Linked DNA regions of Homo sapiens: region 1 is linked to region 2. Evidence: promoter capture Hi-C in human tissues and cell types (Jung and others, 2019). All regions are on one chromosome and are shown on one strand. Each heading gives the region's core, a stretch centred on a gene start or on the middle of the fragment in contact. The rest is flanking DNA. Distances are from core to core; before and after follow the strand shown. Region 1 has its middle 11 kb from the start of KRT85. Region 2 holds the start of KRT83 (keratin 83).

The links. The method cuts DNA at HindIII sites, captures the fragments that hold promoters and counts their contacts. A contact is called where the count stands out against the background at its distance.
Region 1: a contact is called between a fragment that was not itself captured here and the fragment with the promoter of KRT83 in region 2, in 2 of the 25 tissues and cell types used here (adrenal gland and pancreas).

Annotation. Positions count from the first base shown.
Region 1 is chr12:52,353,508-52,359,861 of GRCh38, forward strand. No RefSeq gene overlaps it. Among named protein-coding and RNA genes, the nearest start is that of KRT85, 11 kb to the right of the region's middle. The HindIII fragment of the contact is 6,815 bases long and covers 1,419-6,354 here.
Region 2 is chr12:52,317,055-52,323,001 of GRCh38, forward strand. KRT83 (keratin 83) reads right to left here and starts at 4,344. Exons shown (of 9, transcript NM_002282.3): 1 at 3,898-4,344; 2 at 2,102-2,310; 3 at 856-916; 4 at 627-722. The coding sequence starts at 4,281. The HindIII fragment of the contact is 13,306 bases long and covers 1-5,947 here.

The DNA.
Region 1 (6,354 bases), core at 3,576-6,075, 37 kb after region 2:
TTGTAAATCTCTATCTAATAATCCAATGTACACACAGCCCCTGGGCCAGGTGTCTGATTCCCATCCCTCCATTCCCCTCACCTCTCTAGCAACCATATTTCTAGATGACTCCTCTAGTGTGATCTATCAGTTTTTGCTCAAAGATTGTATGAACATGTCTCAACATCAGCCTGGTCCAAGTAGAGTTTGGTGTGCAATTTGCTAACCACACTCCTGAAGAAGCAGATGGCAGTGGGTTCAGGTTTGCCTGTAGTTTAAAAAGACTCATGTTGCTGGTCCCTCAGAGAAGGAAGATAATTAATCATTGGTTCTAAAGGATTCTGGGTCATAACATGTCTGAGATGGAAGAGAATTCTGACCTGTGTCTCTGTCCACATGTGTGAGCCATTCCCAGGGTGGTGTGGTCTGCGGGGACCTGGACTCCACTGCCTCCTGTGGCTCAGGGGGTGTGGCCATCAGCAGTGGTGCACTGTGTTGCCCCTCTGCAGTGGGGGCCTGCTCCAGTGCCCAATCTGTGCGGTTTGCATAGAGGGGGTGGGACTCTGGACGGACCTGTTCTGATGGGGGCAGTGTGGGTTGGGGAGTGGAAATCTTTTCTCTTGCATGACCAAATGTCAGTTTAGTAATTTCCCCTTACAGAGAACCCAGAACTAACTCTCCTGTTTCCTTCTTATTGGAGTTAACAATTTACTTTCTCTGTGTAAACCCTGGGTTTGACATTATTTTCACTTCCATTGCTTCTCCCCTTCCCTGTGGTTCAGGAATGAAATAGAAAGGCTTTTTTTTGAATGAATTTCTCGGTCATTGTCTTCCCCAATTAACTTCAGGCCAGCAGATGTTAAATTAAGTCCTGACTGTGTGCCAGATCCTCTTGGAACGGAGCCAGCTAGAGGGTGTGGAGTATGTGGGAACATCTCTGCGCTTTGCCCTCGGATGACAGGGGCTCCAGATGCTGCCTCAGCATGGAAGGGTGGTGTGGGTGTGGAGCTGGGCTCCTCACTTGCTCTGAGAGATTGTATATTCCCAGAGTCCCCCAACTATTCATATGTCCAGATTGAAAGACTGACGGAGGCTAATCAGCTGGGTTTATACTGTTTGTTGCCTGGAAGTTCATTGTATTTGCATGATTCCTGTATGGTTCCTTCTTTCTTTTGGTGTGCTTGATTAAATATCAATGGCGAAAGGCTTTTTCTTAGTAACCAAGTTAATGCCTGCCTCCTTCATTGTCTTCCCAACCCACCCAAAGCCCTGACTGTCTTGGTGCATCTCACAATGTGGTCCACCGACCACCACCTGCATCAGAATCCCTGTGGGGTAGTTGCTAAATGTGCAGATCCTGGGCTCCATCTGGAACTCTCAATCAAAAGTTCTAGGGATGAGCCCAGGAATCTGTATTTTAAGAAGCTTCCAGGTGATTCCTAGAAGAACTAAAGCTTGAGAACCACAGGTTGATGTGGGTAGAGGGAAGAGGAGGGTCGGATAATTCTGGCCATGGAAGTGACTGTCCCTCTGATTCTCACTGGATCGGTCTAGCCCCTTTGCATTTCTCCTTTGTCTGCGGCTAAAAGGTCAGAGCCATGGTCTGGGCCACACACACACCAGGGCAAGGTGGGGGCAAAGGTACAAAAGGGGTGAGGAAGGGAGCCTGTATTTGTTAAACACCTGCTAGGTGTCTGGCACATTATATATGTATTTCATTAATTTCTCACAGCAACCAGAATATTATCCTCATTTTACGTATAAATAAATTAAGGCTCAAAGAAGTAGCTTTACTAAGTTACCCAGCTAGTCCAGAATTCAAACTCATGTCTAGGGAATGCTGCTGTTCATAAATGTTTCCACAGCATTTCCCTAATTGCTCCTCAGGCTAAACATTCCGGCTCATCAGATGCTTCCGGAGGAGTTCTGCCTGATGCTCCTTCACCAGCTGTCTGACACTTTGGAGATGAGATGGAAGGTGACACATGGGACCTCCTAGAAGCATTTGTAGAAACATCTCCCCGTAGGTTCTGTTCTCCAAGAATCTCGGACAGATCGTACCACGGGGCGGTTAATACAAGCCTTTTATATGGGAACCCAAGATCAAAGCTCAGACACGTGGTTGGAAGGCATTTGCCCTGATAACCTGGTCAGAGGCAATTGATTGGTGAACTGTATGTCTGGCCTACTCTTGAACTGACAGTTCCCTAGAAGTCCTACCTAGGGCTGTCTCACCTGTATGTGATGAATGGAGACAGGGGTTTCTGAAGGTCAACTTTCTTTCACTTGTTGTACAGGAAGAACTATTTCTCCCACCTTATTTTATTTGGAACTTTTTTTTTTTTAAGCCTGACTGGGTAGGAAACATTTTGCCACAAGAATGCATATCTGATCTCATGACATAGAAAAGTCTTTAAAAGGTTTTTTTTTTCTTTTCTTTTCCATGGTGCTCACGCACATTGCCAAACCTTCTGGTACCAGCTCCGGACCTGCCAAGGCAATGGCTTGGCACCCCGGCCTAGGGGTGGAGTCTGGGGGAGCAGGGCCTGGCCTTTTGACTACCTGCGGGTTCGCTCCCCACATCCCATTCACTGCAGACGGGCGACCCCCGAGGGTCTTTATAAAACCTCTGTGCCAGGACGCACTAGGCACCTAGACTTCGGAGAGGAGGGCGCCGACCCCGGCCACGGTGCTATGGGCATGTCACGGGGCAGCCCTGAGCAGCCAATAACCCCCAAACACCCTGCCCACTACCCCAAAACGGCGGGCAGGTGGCGCCCAGCTCGCCCTCCCGTCCCTCCCGGCGCCCAGCCCCTAGGCCCCTCACCACTGGGGTTAGAGGCTAAGGGCGGGACGCGGGGCGTCTCGGGCAGGGGTGAAGGAGGGCAGCCGGGGCCCAGGCGTGGAGGGCGGGCGCGTTTGAGAGAGGCGCAGGCGGCGGGATCCCGGCGGACGGCAGAAGACTCAGGAACCAGTCCAGAGGCGCCGAGGCGCGAACCTTGCGTGAGCCAAGGACCCAAGGCCCCTGTGGATCTGATCCCGCGGGCTCCAGCAGGGCCCGCGCCGTGCATCTGGAGATGGGCCCAGGATACCCGGTGGCTGGACGTGACGGTGGGCAGGCAGGCAGGGCAGGGCACGGGGCGACCCGTGAGCAAAGCGAGGGTGGGGGTAGGAGGGGTGTGGCCCCTGACTCTCGTGGGTGGGGAGATGGGGGACAACGGTGGCCTCAACGGGAGACGGGGCCAAAGTGGGGACCTGCAGGGAGGACCTGCAGGCCCCTTGTTACACTGTAAACTGTCCCCACCCAGGTGGCCTGCGGACCACCGAGGCTGAGGAAGTCCTGCTGGCCTGGACGGTGACTCGCCTTCCCATCCCGAGTCTCTCGCATCCAGAGGGCCAGCACTGCACGGGCGACATAACAGAGAAGAGCCTTTGAATGGTTCTCCTCGGCCACGCAGTTCTTCTGATGTCTTCAGACTCTGTTTCAGTGACCACAATGGCCAGGCAGTGACTTGACCTGGGCGGACAGAGGTCTATCTTAGTAGGGTGGTGCTTCCCTTGTCTCTGTCTCCCGGACCAAAGGGTCTTGCAGGGGCCTGCCCATCACAGTCCGGATCCCACCAAGTTTGAGCAGCAGTAAAGCCAGGTTAAAAGGGTCACCAGAGTGACTCTGAGGAGGAAACGGTGTCTCAGGGGGCATTGGCTGCCCTGGGGCATGGGACTGTGGACTGGGGAAGGGTCTGTGTTTCCTTTTGATGGTGGTGGAGGGTGGCTATTTGTCTATGAATGCCTTGGGTATTTTCTTCATTTTTAATGCGTAAGCTTATCATGCTGTCCCCGCCTCACCCCACTCCCTGGCTGCTCCCCTGCCAACATGGGGGAGCCCTCGGTTTTTGAACAAAGCGGAAATGAGCAGGGATTTCCAGGCATGCACAGGTTGGGGGTTGGGGGTTGGGGGAGGCAGGAAGGTGGCCTGAGGCTCTGTGAAATAAGCCTCTCCCATTGCTTGTTCTGCCTGGCATGTCCCTACACCCAAGGAGTGTGGCGCTTAGTGCCCATGTCGTTGTTGCTCTGATCCTCAATGAGCAAAACACTTAGTACAGTCACTTCCTAATGCTCATGTTCCCAGAGAGAGACAGGAGTGTGAATAACCCAGACAAGGGGACATTAAGTCCCACATGGTCATGTCCGTGTCTACACAGAACATACTTGGTAATTTTCTTGATAATATGGTTAATTTGTGTTCCTCACTATGCTTGGCTAATGTGAGTAGTAACACAAAATTCTATTTTCTGAGATCCCAAAGATTGAAGCAGGGAACAGTTAGAGACACGGGCTGGGGGAAGGAACTCTCTTGGGCATAGGTGTTTGTGAGGATGGGTTGAAGCAGAGTGGGTTGAGAATTGGTGGTGGAGTGTTAGTGGTTTCAGGAGAAAGGAAAAGATGACAAATCCCAAGCGTACCTGTTTCTTTGAACAGGTTATTATCCATACTTCTAATCCTCTGGAAGCTTTGTGTGTTTGTGGGGAAGGATATCACTAACATTTACATAAGAATTGAATACAGACAGCAGGTCTGATTTTCTCTGATGCTGGTGTTAGCTTGGTTTGTGATGTTTCTAAGCAGGAAGGAGCCCAGGGCAGAGATCTGGGATCACTCCCATGGCCCACTTTATTGTTTGGGCCTCTTGAACTTCTGGCTTTTCCTCGATCTCTCAATTTCAGGTCACTTGACTTCTTCAGAATTTTTTCTTTCTAATAAAATGTTAATCCTTAGTTACCCTTGGACTGTACCCTTTGCATTCCGAGGGGAATAGTTCTTTGATCAGGAGAGAGCTGCAGGAGCCCCAGCATCCTTTGAGCCAGAAGAGCTTGCTGTGGTGGGTTTTTGCTGTTGGCTGCAAGGAGGGCTGGGGCAGAGGCTTACCTCCCCATAAGCAAAAGGCACCTCTGGCCAGCTGAATCTGTTGAATGGTATTTGCACACAAAGCACGGAAATGTATTAAAAAATTCATTCCTATCTCCCAGGTTCTGGCTGTTTGACTTTTCAATCCATGGTGCCGTTATTTTTTGGGTATCAGATTTGGCATTTTTGTTTTGCTCAGCCCAGATCCATGGTAACATGAAGCTGTTTTCCCCAAGCATAGACTCTCTGTAGCATCTCAGAACCATAGGAGGCAGCAGACCTGGTAAGGACTCTACCCACTCATCTCATAGACCCCAGACTGACATGCAAAGCATGAAAGCCACTTCCTGCCCAAGGACTCACCGAGACCTGGCAGTCTTGGCAGAATTGGGGCTCAAATTTCCATTTCCTGATGTTTCAGCCCCTGGGATTTAACGTTTCCTGTGGGTGAATGATGTCCCCTAAATTGAAAGTTGGCCTATTGTGATTGTCACCATGCCCTCAGGGCCCAAACAGCTGGGAAAAAGGAGGCAGCAGGCAAGAGACCTGGAGGAGGCCCGCCAGGTGTCAGCCAGCAAACCTCAAACAGAGCAGCAGCCTAAGCACTCAGAAGCAGCCAGCAGCCTCCAGTGGGGCTACAGCCCTTTGGGCCTAAAGTGAGGATGCACAAGGCCCTATCTTCTCCTCTCAGAGAAAGAGGCTGCAGGATGGGGCAGCAGGGGGCTGGCAGACACCTGCTTGATGACGGTGACAGCTAATGGGGAGATGGAGCTGAGGGCAAGAGGACTGGATGTCTCTACCTCCTGCTGCACCAGCTGCCTGCATTCATCCAGCACATCCCAGGCCTGGCATATCTTGGAGCCCCATCCTGGGACTCAGTGGGAGGTCAGAGCCAGGAGGAGATACTTCCTGTCCTTATGGAATTTCCAGCTTGATCCAGACACACCCGTTGACATCCCTGGCCCAGATCCGCAGAGACAAAACCAGAGATTCTCAGGGTTCCAGACACTATATGATGGGGGCGGGGGAGGGCTGGGGGGTGTAGGGGTGAGGGTGGTAGCTTTGGGGAGCAGAGGAGGGCCCTGAGCAAAGGCAAATGGGAGGAGGGATGTGGGATGGCCTATGTGTCCACAAGGGGTATGTAGGAGAGAGTGTCTCTGGGCTGCCTCAGAGGGTAGACTTGTCTCCTTGGGGTGGAGTCCATGACTGGGAGGATGAGCACCGCATGGAGGGGTTGGACAGGGCTGAGGAGTAGCTGGGGAAGGAGGTGACAGAGGAAGCCTGCATTTGGCATAAGAAGCACACACATGTGCCAGGAAGTGACTTGAGCCAGGCAGGAGAGGGTGAGAGCAGTGAGTTTGGGATGGAGTTTTGGCTGCTGGGAGTACGCAGGGTGGGTCAGGGAGAAAGAGGTCATTAGTGGGGAGCTGGGCTGTAGTCCAGGCCTGAGGGGACTGAGGGCGACTGAGT
Region 2 (5,947 bases), core at 3,094-5,593:
ACTTATCTGGGCTTCTCCTAATCCCTGGATGCCTATCATCCTTTTGGCTCATCGGGAGTGAACTTCTCATGTTTAGAGAAACAAACCTGATGAAATCACATAACTTTCTGCACAAATAGGAAATCCCTTTAGAGGAAAACACAACCACTTCTCAACTGCTTGCTTTTGGAATTATTCAGGCCCATGTGCAGCCAGCATGGTCCAGATGCTTTCCAGGGGCTCAGACCCTGTATGGGGGGCCTCTTTCCATTCTCCTAGACCAACCCCATGTAGGAAGGCTATTGCTGCCAGAGAAAGCCCTGGGCCAGAGCAATGGGTTCAATTCTGTTTGATGCTGTGTGGGGTCTATGCTGCAGTCCACTGGCTCAGGGGAAGGATGCAGGGCAGGTTCCCAAGGCACAGGTGTCTGGGGTGCTCACTCTCCTGCCCCTTACTAAATTTGTTCCTTTTTGGCTTTCCATCCGTTTGCCTCCCTGTTCCTTCCCTCTCCTTGCTCCCTGCCAACCCTCCAGCCGTGAGCCTGGGTTCATATGTCAGCAGGCCTGGTTCATGCCTGTGGGTGTCTGGGCAGAGGGTCAGGGATCCCATGGGGGGATCTGTGCCCACCATGGTTGAGAGCCCCTCACCTCCTCGTACAGCCGCCTCAGGAAGTCAATCTCCTGGATCAGGGCCTCCACGTTGGCCTCCAGGTCTGACTTGCGGAGGTAGGCGCAGTCCACATCCTGGGTGGGGTAGAAGGGGCTGTGAGGCCGGCTTTCCTCAGAGGGCTCTGAGGACCTGGCTGCCATGTGGCAGGACAAAGAGGATGGGTGGCGGGACTCAGGGCGGGCTCAGGGCCAGCTGGGCTTCACTCACCTTCTTTAGAGCCACAAACTCGTTCTCTGCTGTGGCTCGAAGTGCTACTTCTTCTTCATACCTGAGGTGAGCAGGGAGAACAGGACCTTGTCTGAACAGCTCTTGATCTTGGCCATGAGCATATATGCAAAGGAGTCTCTTTCCTAGACCTCCCCCTGCTTGTCTCCTGCCCCCAAGTGAAATGGGTGGGGCTCTGCAGGAACCAGGCTGCTGGCCTGGGTACTACTGGGATGCACTGGAGAAATGAAGTGCCTACTCCCCTGTTTTTTTTTGTTTTTGTTTTTGAGATGGAGTCTCGCTCTGTCGCCCAGGTTGGAGCACAGTGGCGCGGTCTCGGCTCACTGCAAGCTCCGCCTCCCAGGTTCATGCCATTCTCCCCTCTCAGCCTCCCGAGTAGCTGGGACTACAGGTGCCCACCACCACGCCTGGCTAATTCACTCCCCTGTTTTGGTGGAGGTTGGGAGAGCAGGATCTGGAAGCTGAGTGTGTGAATGTGTGTGGTTGGGGAGTGGGAGGTGCTGTTTTTCTCGCCTAGGTCTCCATCTTTTCTTCCTTCGAGCCCTCCCCTGCCCCCACTCAGCTGCAGGTGGTGGGATCCTCGCTCTGTCTCTCCCCTCCTGGCCTGAGCTGTGGGAGGCAGCTCAGAGACAGGGAGGGAGGGGTATGCTGGGCCTGGGGAGTCCATGGAGAGAATGTTACTGAAGGAAGCTGGCCACCCCTCAAAAGCAGATTCCTTCTGAGGATCCAGTGCGTATTCTTCATACCATATATCACACTTTGTAGCTGAAGGGCTAGATCTGTGGCTCTGTCATGACTGCCTTCCAGCAGACTGCAGGCTCCACAAGAACCCGCACTGTGTGGCTTGCGTGGCCCTGTGTCACTATCACCAGCACAGCGTGCTGCATGTGGTAGGTGATCAGATAGTGTTAGCTGAGTGAGAGAGCAAACTTAGGAAGACACATGTCCAGGACTTTGAGATCTGGTCTCAAAGGGACCCAGGAATACAAGTTTTTGTGAAAAATGGATGGAGAAAGGGAGAGAGCATTGTTTCCCTGATCTGCTGGTGGAAAGACAAGCTGAGCCTCCATCCCCCACACCCAAGGGACCCCTGTGTCTCAAACAGGGGGTACAGGTTCTTCTCCACTCTCAGGCAGAGATGCCAGCTGCAGACTGGATACTCCTCCGGGCTCAGGGAGCTGCCACCATGCTATTTCCTGTGCCCAGAACCCCTCCTGCCCACACTCACTTCTTCTTGTAGCCCTCCAGCACCTCCTGCACGTGGTTGAGCTCTGAGGCCAGCCTCCCACTGTCAGCCTCCACGCACTCGGCCTCCCGCCGCAGAGTCTCGATGTAGCCAGCAAACAGGGGCTCCAGGTTACTCTGGCAGCACTCGCGGTTTTGGTAGAACTGCAGCTTTGTCTCCAGCAGCTTGTTCTGCTGCTCCAGGAAGCGCACCTGCCACCCAGAGGCAGAGCCTAAGAACCTCTTCTTGCAGCATCAGAGGACAAAGAGGGGTTCCCAGCACGAGGGCCTGAAAGCCCCCAACTCTCTGACCCAGAGTCTTCCCTGGAAGGCGTTATGTCATCTCTCTCAAAAATGCCACCAGGGCTTAACCAGTTCACCACCTGGAAGTTCTTCCTGGGAGTTAATCTCTTCTAAGTCAGTTTACCTGGTGTCATGGAAAATGCTTGAAGAGTCCAGATTCTGCTGCCACTTGTTAACATTGTGCCCTTGGATAAAGCACTCACCTCCTCTGTAGAGTGGCGAGGTTAAAGCTCACCTTACTATGAGGATTAAAAGAACCCTTTAACAGAAAGGCACCCCACACTGAACAGCTACTGCTGTTCAATCACACCAAGCCAGGTGGACCTTTTTAGAAAGGCAAACTGTAAAAGTTGAAAAATAAAGCATGTGCCAATTATTCAAACCCTACAACAACAATGCAATTAGAATAATAGTCACCTGCAATATGAGAGTAGGAATGTCCTGTGCTCCAACCCCCTTATTTTACTGATGAGGCCAAGGAGGTTCCCTGACTGCCTGAGAGCTCACAGTGGCAGAGAAGAGCTCAAACTCCGATCTTCTGCGCTGCAGGGGGTGTCTTCTCTCCCTTTGACAATTATAGGAACATCCCTCTCCCAGCGATGAGGTTGGCCCACTACTCCACTCAGCTTCTTTTGTCTAATAACTTGGCCACACCCTTGGTAGGTCCTATCTTATGCTATCCTTGGTCTCTCATGCTATTAGAAATTCCACATTTTTTTTTCCCGATCCTTTCTGGTGGGCATCTCTCTAGTGTGACTCCTCTCTTGAGGTTTTGGCTCTGGAGGGCTCTTTCCAACCCCAGAACATGTTCCTAGTCAGAGCCTTTTCTCCCAGTCTCTCACATCACTGCCACATGGTGGTTGCCTGGATTCAGTGGAGAAGGTGGCTGCAAACTCTAGTTGGACACTGACTACACAGATGGTTTCAACCAAACCCAGACTGTGCACTGCCTGCCTCCCCATAAAGCCTGTGAGGATGGGGACCATGACTCTTGCTCACCCCTGGATCCTGAGCCCCAGGAACAGTGGCTTGGACAAAATACTCTAGACCCTGCTCAGTGGCCAAATCACTGTGTGGTATAGAAAGAGTTCTGTGCCATCCACGAGACCCACTTCCAGACAGTTTTCCAGCACCACACTTATTAGCCCTGCCTTGATGGAGACAGCATCTCCTTGGCATTTAAGCAGTTATTTGGCTTCAAATGCCCTGAGCGCCCACACAGTGGTCCTTTGCTCACTAGGTGATATTATCACTCAGTGTGGAAGGCTCTGCCCCTCGTTCTGCTTTTGTGTTTTCAGTTAATCTCCCCCATCAGTCTGGTAGCTCCCGGTCCCATTTTTGTCTTTCTGTCTGTGTCCTAGAAGTATGACTACCTTTCCCTTTGGCCTGGGAACTTCTGTGGGCAAGTTCTTGCCTTTGACTTCCCTGTCAGTGCCCAGCCTGAGTTCTGAACATGAGTAGGGGTTCAGGAAGGGTGTGATCCAGGACGACACCCACCTTGTCGATGAAGGCCGCGAATCTGCTGTTGAGGGACTTGATCTGCTCCTTCTCCTCCTGCTTCACGCACTGCGCGTTGGGGTCTATCTCCAGGTTGAGGGGCGTGAGGAGGCTCTCGTTGACCGACACGGTGGTGATGCATGGGGGGCTGGGTCCGCACACGCCCCCGGAGCGGTAGCCGAAGCTGCGTCCGCAGGAGCCGGCGCGGAAGCCCCCGCACACGCTGTGGCTGCCAAAGCCCCCGGTGAGGCCGCGGTAGCAGGAGATGCCGCGGTAGGGGGCGGCGGTGATGCAGCAGCGGCTTGGCCGGGGCCCGCAGGCAGAGACACAGCTGAAGTTTCCAGGGCGGAACCCACAGCCTATGGAGTTGAAGCCACAGGTCATGACGGAGGTTAGGAGGTGTCTGAACAGTGGAGTAGATGGCAGAGGATGGAACCAAGGGCCTGTGCTCCCTGGCTGATGGCAGGCCCTTTTATGTGCCAGGGGCAGCTGGTGTTAAAAGAGGGAGCAAAGAGACAATAGCTGAATTTTATTGGCTTGGCATCACCCTGGCCTCTTAAGCTAGAACCCTGCTTGCCTCTTCAGTGTGGCTGCATCAACAATCCCTGGCCACGGGCCCTGTTTCATCTTCAAAGCCCTTTATAAGCTTCCTCCTTGCTCCTGCCCCTCCCACTGGCACTGCTGTGGAGCGGGGAGAGGGGTTCCTGAAAGCATTAGTTGCATTCTGCGGTCCAAGCGAGGGGAATGGGTGCAGTGACCTGGGGTAAAGCCTGCTCTCTGAACCCTGTTCTGAAAGGGGCAGAGCTAGGCTATGGGCCCTGGACCCATGGCCAAGCCCTGGGGTGGAGTGGCTGGCCTGTCCCAAGGAGGGGGCTGCCTCTGAGACAACCTCTTGCTGTAGGCTTTCCTGTCTTTTTCTCAAAGGCGGGTTCCTTTCCTCATTGTCAAGATTGGCCGCTCCTATCCTATTCCTGCTCAGAGCCTGGTCAAGGATGGGAGTGGGGGTAGAGATTTGGGGTGGGAGGAGGGCATGTTCTTTGCACTTTGGGTATTCCTAGTGCAGGGACACCATCTGGGACATGGAAGAAACTGATTCAGAGAGTTCAGGACAGTGCCAGGGCTATGCTTCAGAGTTCCAGGTGTCATTGCTGATGGGATCAGGAGCGGGGAGTGTGGAATACCTCAGAGCTCCAGGGACTCATGGAGGAGAGTGGGGACCTGGGCTTGAGGAGGATTGGGGTGGGGTAGTACAGGATTGAGAGATGACCAGAAAAGAGTCTGGCTCTGATTTGCAGACTAGACTATGTGTATTCATTTATTCATTTATTCATTTATTCATTTATTCAGGAAATACTTATTTGGTGCCCACCAACTATGCACTAGCCACTGTGCTAGGTTCTGGAAATCCTACAGAGACCTGGGGTGTTTGGAGGTAGCATGCATGTGGGGGAGCCAACATTTGGCTAGGGGGAAAGATGAGAAGCCACAGATGGGGGGAAGGCCCTCACAATGTCCAGGCTGATTGGTGTTCTTTAGGTTCCCAGCAGGGAAGCTCAGTGATGGGGTCTTGGGGTGTATGTACTCACCAGGAAGGAGGGAAGGTGCGGGAGGTGAGGGACATCAGCAGGGTCCTTAAATGAGATCACTCTCTCACCTCAGAGAACACACTGGGTGAGAGAAGGGTGCTAGCTCATGTGGCTGTTCCTAAAGCCAAGCTCTCTTACTTTGGGCCCTTGTTCCTTTGGGTTAGGACAGGCAATGGCTTTGATGGATGGACAGTCGGACCGAGCCAGGAGGTTTGCCTTAACCCGAGGACCTGAGCCCATCAACCCTTCCAAACACACATCTCTGGACTGCTTTCGTCAGGAGAGGATGAGGAGGACTCCACTGATGGACCTGTGTCCTGACCCAGCCACAACCCAACACTGACCCACTCTGGGCTAATAGTAACCCTCCTGTGACTCTCATCTTTTGCCCTTCCCACTCCCGCTCAGGATGAGTGGGCCAGTTATATCCCAGAGTGGGGATCTGGGGATGATGGAAGAGGGGC